Linked DNA regions of Homo sapiens: region 2 is linked to region 1. Evidence: promoter capture Hi-C in 16 types of primary human blood cells and fetal thymus (Javierre and others, 2016). All regions are on one chromosome and are shown on one strand. The core of a region is centred on a gene start or on the middle of the fragment in contact, and the rest is flanking DNA. Distances in the headings are between cores, read along the strand shown.

The links. Contacts are between HindIII fragments. The CHiCAGO score rates a contact against its expected background, and 5 or more counts as called.
Region 2: a fragment that was not itself captured here is called in contact with the fragment with the promoter of BST1 in region 1 in 1 of 17 cell types (neutrophils); the score reaches 5.4 in neutrophils.

Annotation. Positions count from the first base shown.
Region 1 is chr4:15,700,411-15,705,856 of GRCh38, reverse strand. BST1 (bone marrow stromal cell antigen 1) reads right to left here and starts at 2,792. Exons shown (of 9, transcript NM_004334.3): 1 at 2,525-2,792; 2 at 216-342. The coding sequence starts at 2,712. RefSeq lists a silencer at 2,774-2,853. The HindIII fragment of the contact is 13,056 bases long and covers 1-5,446 here.
Region 2 is chr4:15,011,887-15,017,332 of GRCh38, reverse strand. It overlaps CPEB2 (cytoplasmic polyadenylation element binding protein 2), which reads right to left. Exons shown (of 12, transcript NM_001177382.2): 4 at 55-145. All of the region lies in intron 3 of C1QTNF7-AS1 (C1QTNF7 antisense RNA 1), which reads left to right. Among named protein-coding and RNA genes, the nearest start is that of CPEB2, 12 kb to the right of the region's middle. The HindIII fragment of the contact is 2,466 bases long and covers 1,744-4,209 here.

The sequences.
Region 1 (5,446 bases), core at 1,543-4,042:
GTCTCAGGCATTTCTTTATAGCAATGTGACAACGGACTAATACAGAAACAAAGCTAGCTTCCCACAGAGAGCTCAGCACACACATTATGTGTGCTGCCTGATGTTTCTGTGACATTGCAGGATGCAGGGGACAGCTAATGTCAACCTGGCCCATGCACCATCCATTTCTGTAGAGACAGAGAACACAGTTTTACCCAAGATGGTTGTGGTGTTACCTTATCTCTGGGAATAGAGTGCCTGGACAAGTTAATAAAAAGGTCATAGTCTGAGGGCAGCACGGAGCAGGGATCCTTGTCCAGCGCCACTTTAAAGGCTTCCCAGATGGCTGTGCAGTTCTTGTTCCTGTGCAAAAGTACAAGTTGGGAAGAACACACACATGCACATCATAATGTGTTGTGAAGTATGCCCATTTGTCTAAGAGCTTTACAAGAGATTTTTCATATAGTAACTGCAGAAGTAGGCTTACAAAAAAGACAACGAATTGTCATGGCTTAGGTGACAGATTCAGAAATCTGACACTGGAATTGTCTCTCTGAAGGCACTGCACAGATTTCTCAGAGCTAAGGAATACAGCCTTGCCCCAGGCTCACGGAGACAAGCAGAAATGGCACCGAGCAGGAGGTGACAAATTCAGTCAACTATACAGCAGGTGCCTCTTCATTTAGACCTAACGGTGGGGCCAGTCTCATAGTCCAGTTCCAGTGTGGAGCTCGGGGACCAGGTGAGGCCAGGCCAGCCAGCAGGATGTGTAGTGTTAGGAGGGAGGCCCAATGCTGCAAAAGGCTTCCACCTCTGGCAAAGCAGGTGCACCCTCCAGTGCAAGCCCCTCTTGAGGTCCATGCTAGTTTTCAAAAAATATTTCCCATAGCATTTGTAACTTTGTTTCTCATACTGGGTGGTGTGTAACACAGGTGGTTCTCTGCTGTTTCTTATTTGCCTGAAATGTGCGACAATAAAAATGATCAGCACAAGAAAGACATCACAAACATAAGAAAAGGGGGGCCACAGAAGGAACAAAAATCAGTAAGAAATGCAGCACTGGCAAGAAAGACCCAAACTTCAGAAATCCTCCAGATTTAGGGGATCTGAAATTTGAATTCTGGAAGGACTGGACTCAAGGAATTCCAACCTGAGATCACATTCTGGGTTCTGAGTATTCAGACTAAACATCTGCTGGGTGGCAATGGGCTGTTACCCAGTTCACCTCTACCCCACCCTCACTTCTAGAGGGATACCTCTCCACCCTCCTTCACACTCACACACACCTCTCACCTCTAGACCACACACACATCCCTCACCTCTAGACCACACACACATCCCTCACCTATAGACCACACACACACACCTGTCACCTCTAGACTACACACACACACCCCTCACCTCTAGAACAAACACACACACATCTCACCTCTAGAACACACACACAACTCACCTCTAGAACACACACACACACACATCCCTTACCTCTAGAACACACACACCTCTCACTTCTAGAACACACACACCCATCATCTCTAGAACACACACATCTCACCTCTAGAACACACACCCCTCAACTCCAGAACACACACACACCCCTCACCTCTAGAACACACATACACACCTCATCTCTAGAACACACACTCTCCTCAGCTCTAGAATACACATACACCCCCTCACCTCTAGAACACACACACCCCTCACCTCTAGACCACACACACATCCCTCACCTCTAGACCACACACACATCCCTCACCTATAGACCACACACACACACCTGTCACCTCTAGACTACACACACACACCCCTCACCTCTAGAACACAGATACACACACACCTCTAGAACACATGCACGCACCCCTCACCTCTAGAACACACACACACACATCTCACCTCCAGAACACACACACCCCTCACTTCTAGAACACACACACCCCTCACCTCTAGAATACACACACCCCTCACCTCTAGAGCGCACGCACACACACCCCCTTCACCTCTAGAACACACATGCACACACCCCTCACCTCTAGAACACACATACAGACACCTCACCTCTGGAACACACACACCCCTTACCTCTAGAACACACACACACATCTCACCTTTAGAACACACACACACACCCCTCACCTCTAGAGCACACACACACACACACACCCCCACCTCTAGAGCACACACACACACATCCACCTCTAGAGCACACACACACCTCCCACCTCTAGAGCGCGCGCACACACACACCCCCCTCACCTCTAGAACACACGCACACACCCCTCACCTCTACAGTGTGTGTGTGCGCGCACACACACACACTCATCTCTAGACCCCGCACAGCGCACCCCTCACCTGCAGACACACTTCACAGCCCCCTCCTCACTCGCCCCCATCGTTCAGGACCATCGCTGTCTCCACACTCACCTCTCCCCTCAAGGCCTCTCTCATTGCCCCCTCACCCCGAACTTTAGCGCCAGTTTTCCCCTCCCCAGGCCCTCCCCACCGTTGCCTCTTTCCGGCTCCCCTTCCACCCGGCCGACTGCCTCACCGCTGCTCGGGACTCAGCAGTGCGCGGTACTCGGCGCAGCGGCCCAGGAAGATGTCCCGCAAGTGTGCGCTGGTGCCCTCCCCGCGCCACCGCGCGCGCGCCCCGCCCGCCGCCAGCAGCAACAGTAGAAGCAGAAGCTGCAGCAGCAGCTGGAGCAGCCGCGATGCCGCGCACCCCTGGGCCGCCATCGGGGAACTTTGGTCCCTCCAGTCCCGTGCTTCCTCCACTCCCCTTCTCTCCTTCTACCAAGGCGGTTCCGCAAACTGATGCAGGGCGGGACTCTCGCTCGGATATCTCGCTGTTTGCCGTTTCCCGTTCCAGACAATTTCAAGACTGAGCGTGGGGCGGGGCGCGGCGGCTCATGCCTGTAATCCCAGCACTTTGAGAGGCCTAGACGGGCGGATCGCTTGAGTATAGGAGTTCGAGACAAACCTGAGTAACATACAGGTGAGAAACCTCCTCTCTACAAAAAAATACAAAACTTAGCTGGTCCTGGTGGTGCGCATCTGTAGTCTCAGCTACCTGCGAGGTGAGATGTGAGGAGGCTTGACCCCAGGGGATCGAGGCTGCAGCGAGCAGTGATTGCACCACTGCACTCCAGCCCTGGGCGACAGAGTGAGACTCTGTCTAAAAAAAAAATTAATAAATAAATAAAATTAAAAAAGAGTGAGCTTGGAACATCACCCAGGACAGGACCAGTGCACTGTGGCCCAGGCTAATCTTGACCGCTGTCCACGGGGAGGGAGCCCCAAAGAAGCCGCAAGGTTGAAGGAGAGGTGAGGAGAGGTCAGTCATCATCAGAAGAAATACTTTTCTGGCTCCAAAGGACGACAACTTTGACAGATGCCCTCTTTCACACCAACCAATAAGTGGTGTTTGTTTGTTTTCAGGAAATAATAACCACAACAACGTGCCAAGCACTTTGCAAGTATAATATTAATTACTTTCCGCAACACCCTTCCTAGCTAAGTTTGTAATTTCTCTCGCTTTAGCAATGGATAAACTCAGGGAAGTTAAGCATGTTCGGCCCTCCAGATTTGCGGATTCATCATCCAAATTCAGCTAACCACGGATGAGAAACATTTGAGGAAAAAAAGAATGCTTGCATCTGTACGGAACATGTACGGACTTTTTTTTCCTTGTCATCATTCCCTAAATAATCCAATGTAACAACTACTTATGTAACAATTACATAGTACTTGATATTACAAGGAATCTGGAGATGACGTGAATTATAGAAGAGGATGTGCAAATACTGTATACTACACCATTTAATATAAGGGCCTTGAGCATCTGTGGATTTTGGTATCCAGGAGGTTCCTGGAACCAATTCTCCATGGATACCTACCGCCGACTGTAACTTGTCAGAGGTCACAATATCCCTTCCTGATAGATGCAAAATCCTGGAGATGTTCAGTTTAAGAGAGCCAGGATTGGCCGGGCGCGGTGGCTCACACCTGTAATCCCAGCACTTTGGGAGGCCGAGGCGGGTGGATCACGAGGTCAAGAGATCGAGACCATCCTTGCTAACACGGTGAAACCCCGTCTCTACTAAAAATACAAAAGATTAGCCAGGCGCGGTGGCGGGCGCCTGTTGTCCCAGCTACTCGGGAGGCTGAGGCGGGAAAACGGCGTGAACCCAGGAGGCAGAGCTCGCAGTGAGCCGAGATCGGGCCACTGCACTCCAGTCTGGGCAACAGAGTGAGACTCCGTCTCAAAAAAAAAAAAAAAAAGAGCCAGTATTAATAGAATACCACGTGGAGGCCCAAGTCCTCAATTCTTACAATAATGACAGCAATGAACTTTGAGTGCCTGGCAAGCACTTGATAAACACAAGGGAGGACAGAACAGGTGTTCTCTACTGTTTTATTTGAATCTCTTTTTTTCTGTAACCAAAACCCGCATTCTCCTGTTCAGTTCCTCCTTAAGTTAAATCCACTTTCCAGAGGAAAGCATTTTTAATTCTTTCAAGTTTTGTTCCTGTGTTTACTTCCATATTTCTAAATAACATGTGTGAACCCGCAAATTTTGAGACAGGTCTCAATTAATTTAGAAAGTTTATTTTAGCAAGGTTGAGGACACGTGTCCATGACACAACCTCAGGAAGTCCTGACGACATGTACCCAAGGTGGTCAGGGCACAGCTTGGTTTTATACATTTTAGGGAGACATGAGATATCAATCAATATATGTAAGAAGTACATTGGTTCTGTCCAGAGAGGCGGGGACAACTCGAAGCACGGAGGGGGCTTCCAGGTCTCAGGTAGGTGAGAGACAAATGGTTGCCTTCTTTTGAGTTTCTGATAAGCCTTTCCAAAGAAGGCCATCAGAATATGCATATATCTCAGTGAGCAGCTGAATGACTTTGAATAGAATGGGAGGCAAGTTTGCCCTGAGCAGTTCCCAGCCTGACTTTTCCCTTTAGTTTAGTAATTTTGGGGCATCCCTGGCATGGCTCGTCCCACCAAATCTAATGTGAAATTGTAATCCCCAACGTTGGAGGTGGGGCCTGGTGGGAGGTGATTTTATCATGGGTGTGGGTTTCTCAAGAATAGTCTAGCACCATCCCCTTGTTGCTATTCTCATGATAGTAAGTGAGATCTGGTTGTTTTAAACTGTGTAGCACTGGCAGGGCGCCGTGGCTCACACCTGTAATCACAGCAGTTTGGGAGGCTGGTGTGGGGGGTGTGTTGGGAATCACGGATCGAGACCATCCTGGCCAACATGGTGAAACCCCATCTATACTAAAAATACAAAAATTAGCTGGGCGTGGTGGCACGCACCTGTAGTCCCAGCTCTTCGGGAGGCTGAGGCAGAAGAATCGCTTGAACCTGGGAGGCGGAGGTTGCAGTGAGCTGAGATCTCACCACTGCACTCCAGCCTGGTGACAGAGTGAGACTCTGTCTCAAAAAAAAAAAAAAAA
Region 2 (5,446 bases), core at 1,727-4,226, 690 kb after region 1:
GATAAGCAAATTGGTGTATAATATAAACATATATTTTTTTAAAAAGTCACCTACCCTTAAGAGGATCATGCTCTGCTCTCATAATATCGATAAGGGAATTTTCCAAAGAGTGCATATTCAAACTGTCATACATTCTACTTCGATCCTGGAAGAGAAGAGGAAAAAAGACATTATAATCTATGCAGTTTTTTCAAAAAGCGATTATAAAACACTATCTAAATTCTCTTACATAAAATAGGACTTCTGATTATTACTAATTAATCTGTATCCCACAAAAATACCAATAACTAAAGATCTCATGAACTACAATGTTCCTTGCATTGGAGGACATTATTTTCAGTATATTTATCTCTTAAAGCTTTTATCAAAAGTAATCTAATTTTACTGGCAATACTAATGCAAAACAGTAAAATAATTTCTATAGTTACTTTTCTCTATAAAGTTTCCTGAAATCTTATACACACAGAAAGCATTTTTTGGTTAATTTCAAAACTTTTCTCACATATTTAGGAAGACAGATAGTGGCACATAGAAAATAAATATTTGGGAGGAAATATTTTAGTTCCATAATTGCACCATACTTTAAACATCTATCAAACATTTTGTTATCTGACATAGTAGTCTGAATTTAATAATGAGTGCATAAACATCTTATACGGTAAAAATCAAAAGCATAAGATACTAATAACCAGAACAGGGACTAATGCCTAGAATATTCAGATTCATATATTACTCTCTAAAGTGCTTCCATATTTGTCTCTGCATTTTTAAGCCGGCCTCCCCCAACTCCCCTGCAAAATAGGCAGGTGGAGGAGAGAAGAGTAAAAGCACAGTAATCTCATTAAGTCTGCTACTTCACCAAGTCTCCAAAGTCTTGTTATCAGAATCTTCTTTGCTGAATGTTCAATCCCTTCACTTGCTTATTTGAAAGAATCTGACTCTTTAATGTCCATAAATTTCTACTGTATTCTGTTCAATACATACTCAGTGTACCTGAAAAAAGGTATGTGGTGAACTACTAGAGGAAGCTCTGGCCCATGCCCTCCAAATAATCTAGGAGTCTTCCCAAAATACTCACCCACCCAGTTACATATGTGTATACACGCATGTGTAAGCTTATGTATACGTGGGGGATACAGGATAGTCCATTCTAAACTCTCAAAAAATGACTGTCACAGAAAATGGAAAGGAAGAATCTGAAAATTAAGTGGAAATAAAAGCCCCCATAGAAATCAAAATAAGGCACTTATTAACCTGGGTCCATTAGCTTCAAGAGAGACCAGAAGTCTCTGAGATTATATGTAATATACTGTTCATAGGTGTACAGTAGTCCCCCCTTTCTGCATTTTGCCTTCCACGATTTCAGTTATCTGTAGGACAATACAATAAGATATTCTGAGAGACAGAGATGCCACATTTACATAATTTTTATTACATTGTTATAATTGTCCTACTTTACTATTATTGTTGTTAATCACTTACTGTGCCTAATTTATGAATTAAACCTTATCATATGTCTTCATTGGAAAAAAACAGCATATGAAGGCACTATTTGCAGTTTCAGCCATCCACTGATTGTCTTGGAACGTATCACTCATGGATAAGGGGGGACTAGTGTGTACATAATTTCTTTTTTTCCCGAAGAAAAGGTTTATAGCTTTCATCAGTTTTCCACAGGAGTCCACAATCCAGAGAAGATTCAGAATCAGTTCTTTAGAAAGCTGAAGAAAAACCTAAAAAGCTTTTCTAAGAATATGTTCATTTATTTACTTTACTTTGATGTTTAAATTAGGGTTGTAGCCTTTTTAAAGCTAGGGGTTCAGAATCAGTACTGTAGACTAAGTTGCTGTCAGGGATTTAAAAAGGTAAAAAGTAACACTGAATGACGGAAGGAATGCTAGACTGGAGGCTCTTATTCCAGCTTTATCACCAATTAACTCTATCAGTACTCTTTACTGATTTTTACTGAAAGGCCCCTGAGGTAAAACACATGCATCAATAACAGCTGCTCTCTAGAACAGTGACCTTGATTAGTGATGGAGGCACAAAGAATCAATGAGCTGTAACAGTGGTTCCTAAACTTGAACATGCTTCAGAATCATCTGGAAGGCTGGTTAAACACACAGACTGCTGAAACACATCAAATTCAGTAGGTCTGGAGTGGAACCTGAGAGTATGTATTTCTAACAAGTTCCCAGGTGATACTGATTCTGCTGGTCTGGATATCACACTTTATAAGAAGCAATTAGTTTCTTCGTCTGAAGTCACTAAATCTCTCTAGGCTCTGGTTCTAACTCCTAGAAAATAATCATGTCAGACTAGATGATGCCTATAGTCTCTTTAAAAATTCTAGAAAAGAAAAAGACTCAAAATACTCTAAAATAAATGAAATATTAATAAAACTGAAACAGAGAATAGGATGGCCCATATGGGCAAAAATGACATATTAATTTTAGGAATCTATCCAGATATTTCCATCTTCCCTGTGCTTCCACTATACTGTGTTCATAACTAATTTGTTGATTTTCCTGTCTGTCCCACTAAACTTCTAAGTTGATTAAGAATAGGGACTATCTAATTACAGAATATAGTTAGTTCTCATGTCTGTTGAATGAATACTTCTTTATCTCTACCATAAAAACTCAATAAAAAATGTAAAAAAAAAGTCGAGTTCTGTAAGGAGAAAGACTGTACTTTTTAAATAGTAATGGTAAAGGACTATAAAACTTTCTCAGAATCCTCAACGGAACAGGTAGTCAAATGTTAATTGACTAAACTGAGACAAGCATCAGATTAACGTGGCTTGCTATGAACCTGAATTTCCAACCACCCAATGGAAGATTAAGTACCACAATACTGAAAGTTCCCAGATGTATTTAAAATAGAATTATAAAATGTAAGCTGTAATGATAAAAGTTAATGTTCATATAATTAAGCAAAAAATCCCTCTGCAGGTGTGCCATATCATGAAGGTTCTAAGAGTATACTGTAAATACTTTAAAATACTTTATTATCTTCCTTACCCTAAATCCTCACAAAGGAAATATATTACAGTTCATGGTTATCTTTTTAGGTTGTTAACTTTGAACAGAATCAACCTATGCCCAGTCAACCGATGACCTTAATTAATGGTAACTATTAAATCACCCAAACAATATTTCCCAAGTAACTTCCTTTTTCTGGAGGTGTAGGGGAAAGTACCCTCTACCTTCATTGCAAGAGGTGTGATCTTGCTCTATAGCATGGTAAAATTATTGCTCGGGTCATGGACAATATTTAAAGTATGAAAGAGAAACATCCTTAAACTAACTATAAATATCAGTGACCACTATATAATCAATTTTGAGAGGTGTTATTCAAAAAGGCTGCATGTATTAATAACTTCAGCTTGAATGTCTGTATCTAACTGAATCAGTGAGATGCCTACTTATAAGGTCTCTTATTTTCCTTTTTCTGTTAAGTATTTGATCCTAAACTCCTACTCTAGGAAAGAAAACAGCAAAGCTATTTTAAAATGATTAGCTTGGTTGTACTTTGTAAAGCATCAGCTGCATCCCATGTGATTTTTAAAGCAACAAACATAAAACAGCCTTGAGCAACCAAAGAGCACATGACATCTCAAAATTGCTTTTTGAATTTAATGAAACCTATAGGCTTACATGCAAAAGATATTGATAATTCCATTAAATAAATTGCAGGAATTAAAATATGACTTCTGAAAAAACAGAAACAAATCTGGTTATAAAACAAACACTCATGCATTCTTCTGAAATACAGACATTAGGAAAAATTGTGTTCATGCAAACTGCCATCAGTTTGAAAACTAAATAGAAGAACTAAGGCAATTTTCAAGTTACCATGAACGCAACAATACTAATTATCATTAATAAATATGGAAAATCATAGCAATGTAATTTACATTTATTACTATAAGGTTATTTGAAAGCACCAAAATACTTCAGAAATATAAGACTCTATGAGGAAAAGTGTGCATGCAATCTATTCTAAAATATAAAAACTATCTGGCAAACAATCAACTAAATGGGCTTTCAGAAACAGATTACAGAATCTCACAATAACTAACAGAATAAAATGATTAGAAAACATTGTTGGAAAAGGCATAACCTCTTTTATTATAATATTTATTTCATGGTTTTTCTTAAACCCAGACATTTGCCACAAACACTTACAGGAGTATCAATAAAAGCTTAGAAAGGCTGAAAAACACAGAAAAGAACAAAGTAATCCAAATCTTGAAAAAAGATAACCTAAGAAAAGATTATAAACACTGAAAAATAACTAAGGAGGTCAGTGTACAATATTAGAAGCAGTATGACAAAGGGAATTCAAACTTAATCACAAGAGAACTTTTTGAAGAGATATTAATTTTTTTTGCTGGGATACATTAAAAACCCTGTTTTATTTTTAAAGAAGTGGTCAATTAGAAACTTCTCCTCTTGAAAATGAGGTACTCTTCCAAAGAAAAATAAGATTATAGAAAACCCCTATATTCTTATATTTAATGATTTAGCAGATGCTTGAACATGTATTATTCTGCTTAACTAGAAAGATCAGCTTTTATTGTACTTACAATGCTTGTGTTTAGTTCTCTAATTTTTACTTTAAAATAAAGCAATGTAGTGCTAATATTGTCCTTAATTTTAAGTAGATATTGATCATACTTTCCTGTTACACAATGTTATCACACCATACTCAGTAGCAGATGACGTGCTACTCTACTGCATAACGTAGTACTCAATCTCATAAGCTCTCTTCTCATTCTCTAGTTGTTCTACATAGATAACCCTTATTCATCTAACTAGACTCTTACCTTCTCCAAGACAAAGAATAGTATTTTTTATCCATATATTCTAAGGGTAATTAAAACACTAACATACAGAATGAATGAAGATACATTTCTTTTATTTTCTTTATTAATTTCGAACCTCAATAAAGTGTGTTAGCCATTCTCAGAAAAAAAATAAACAAATGTTTTAAAAGGCCAAAGCTATTCTAGTACTCACAAGAATTAAAATAGACAAGTGGAAAACATTTCAAGAACAATTAAAGCACTGAACACAGAATAGGAAACAAAAAGAAGGCATCCATTACTTAAGCTGTAATACAAGAGTCCATTCTTTTCCATTTTCAGTGGGCATGTAACAGTTTGATGACTATGAATGTCCCTGAAGTTCATCTGGTTTACAAACCACTATTTAAGAAATGCTTTATCAGATAAACAAATTGGGTTTGGTATGCAACTATATACTGTTTTTTTGTGTGTAAGGTGAGTAAAGATTCAAATAATATTTTTTCTGAGACAGATCTCCAAATTATGATTTACCACATTATCATAACAGCCTATTAAAGATTAATGGAAAGTATCTTCAATTAATTCAAGGTAGTTTATTATGTGACATGCTCAAGCACTGCAAGTAGAGCTTGT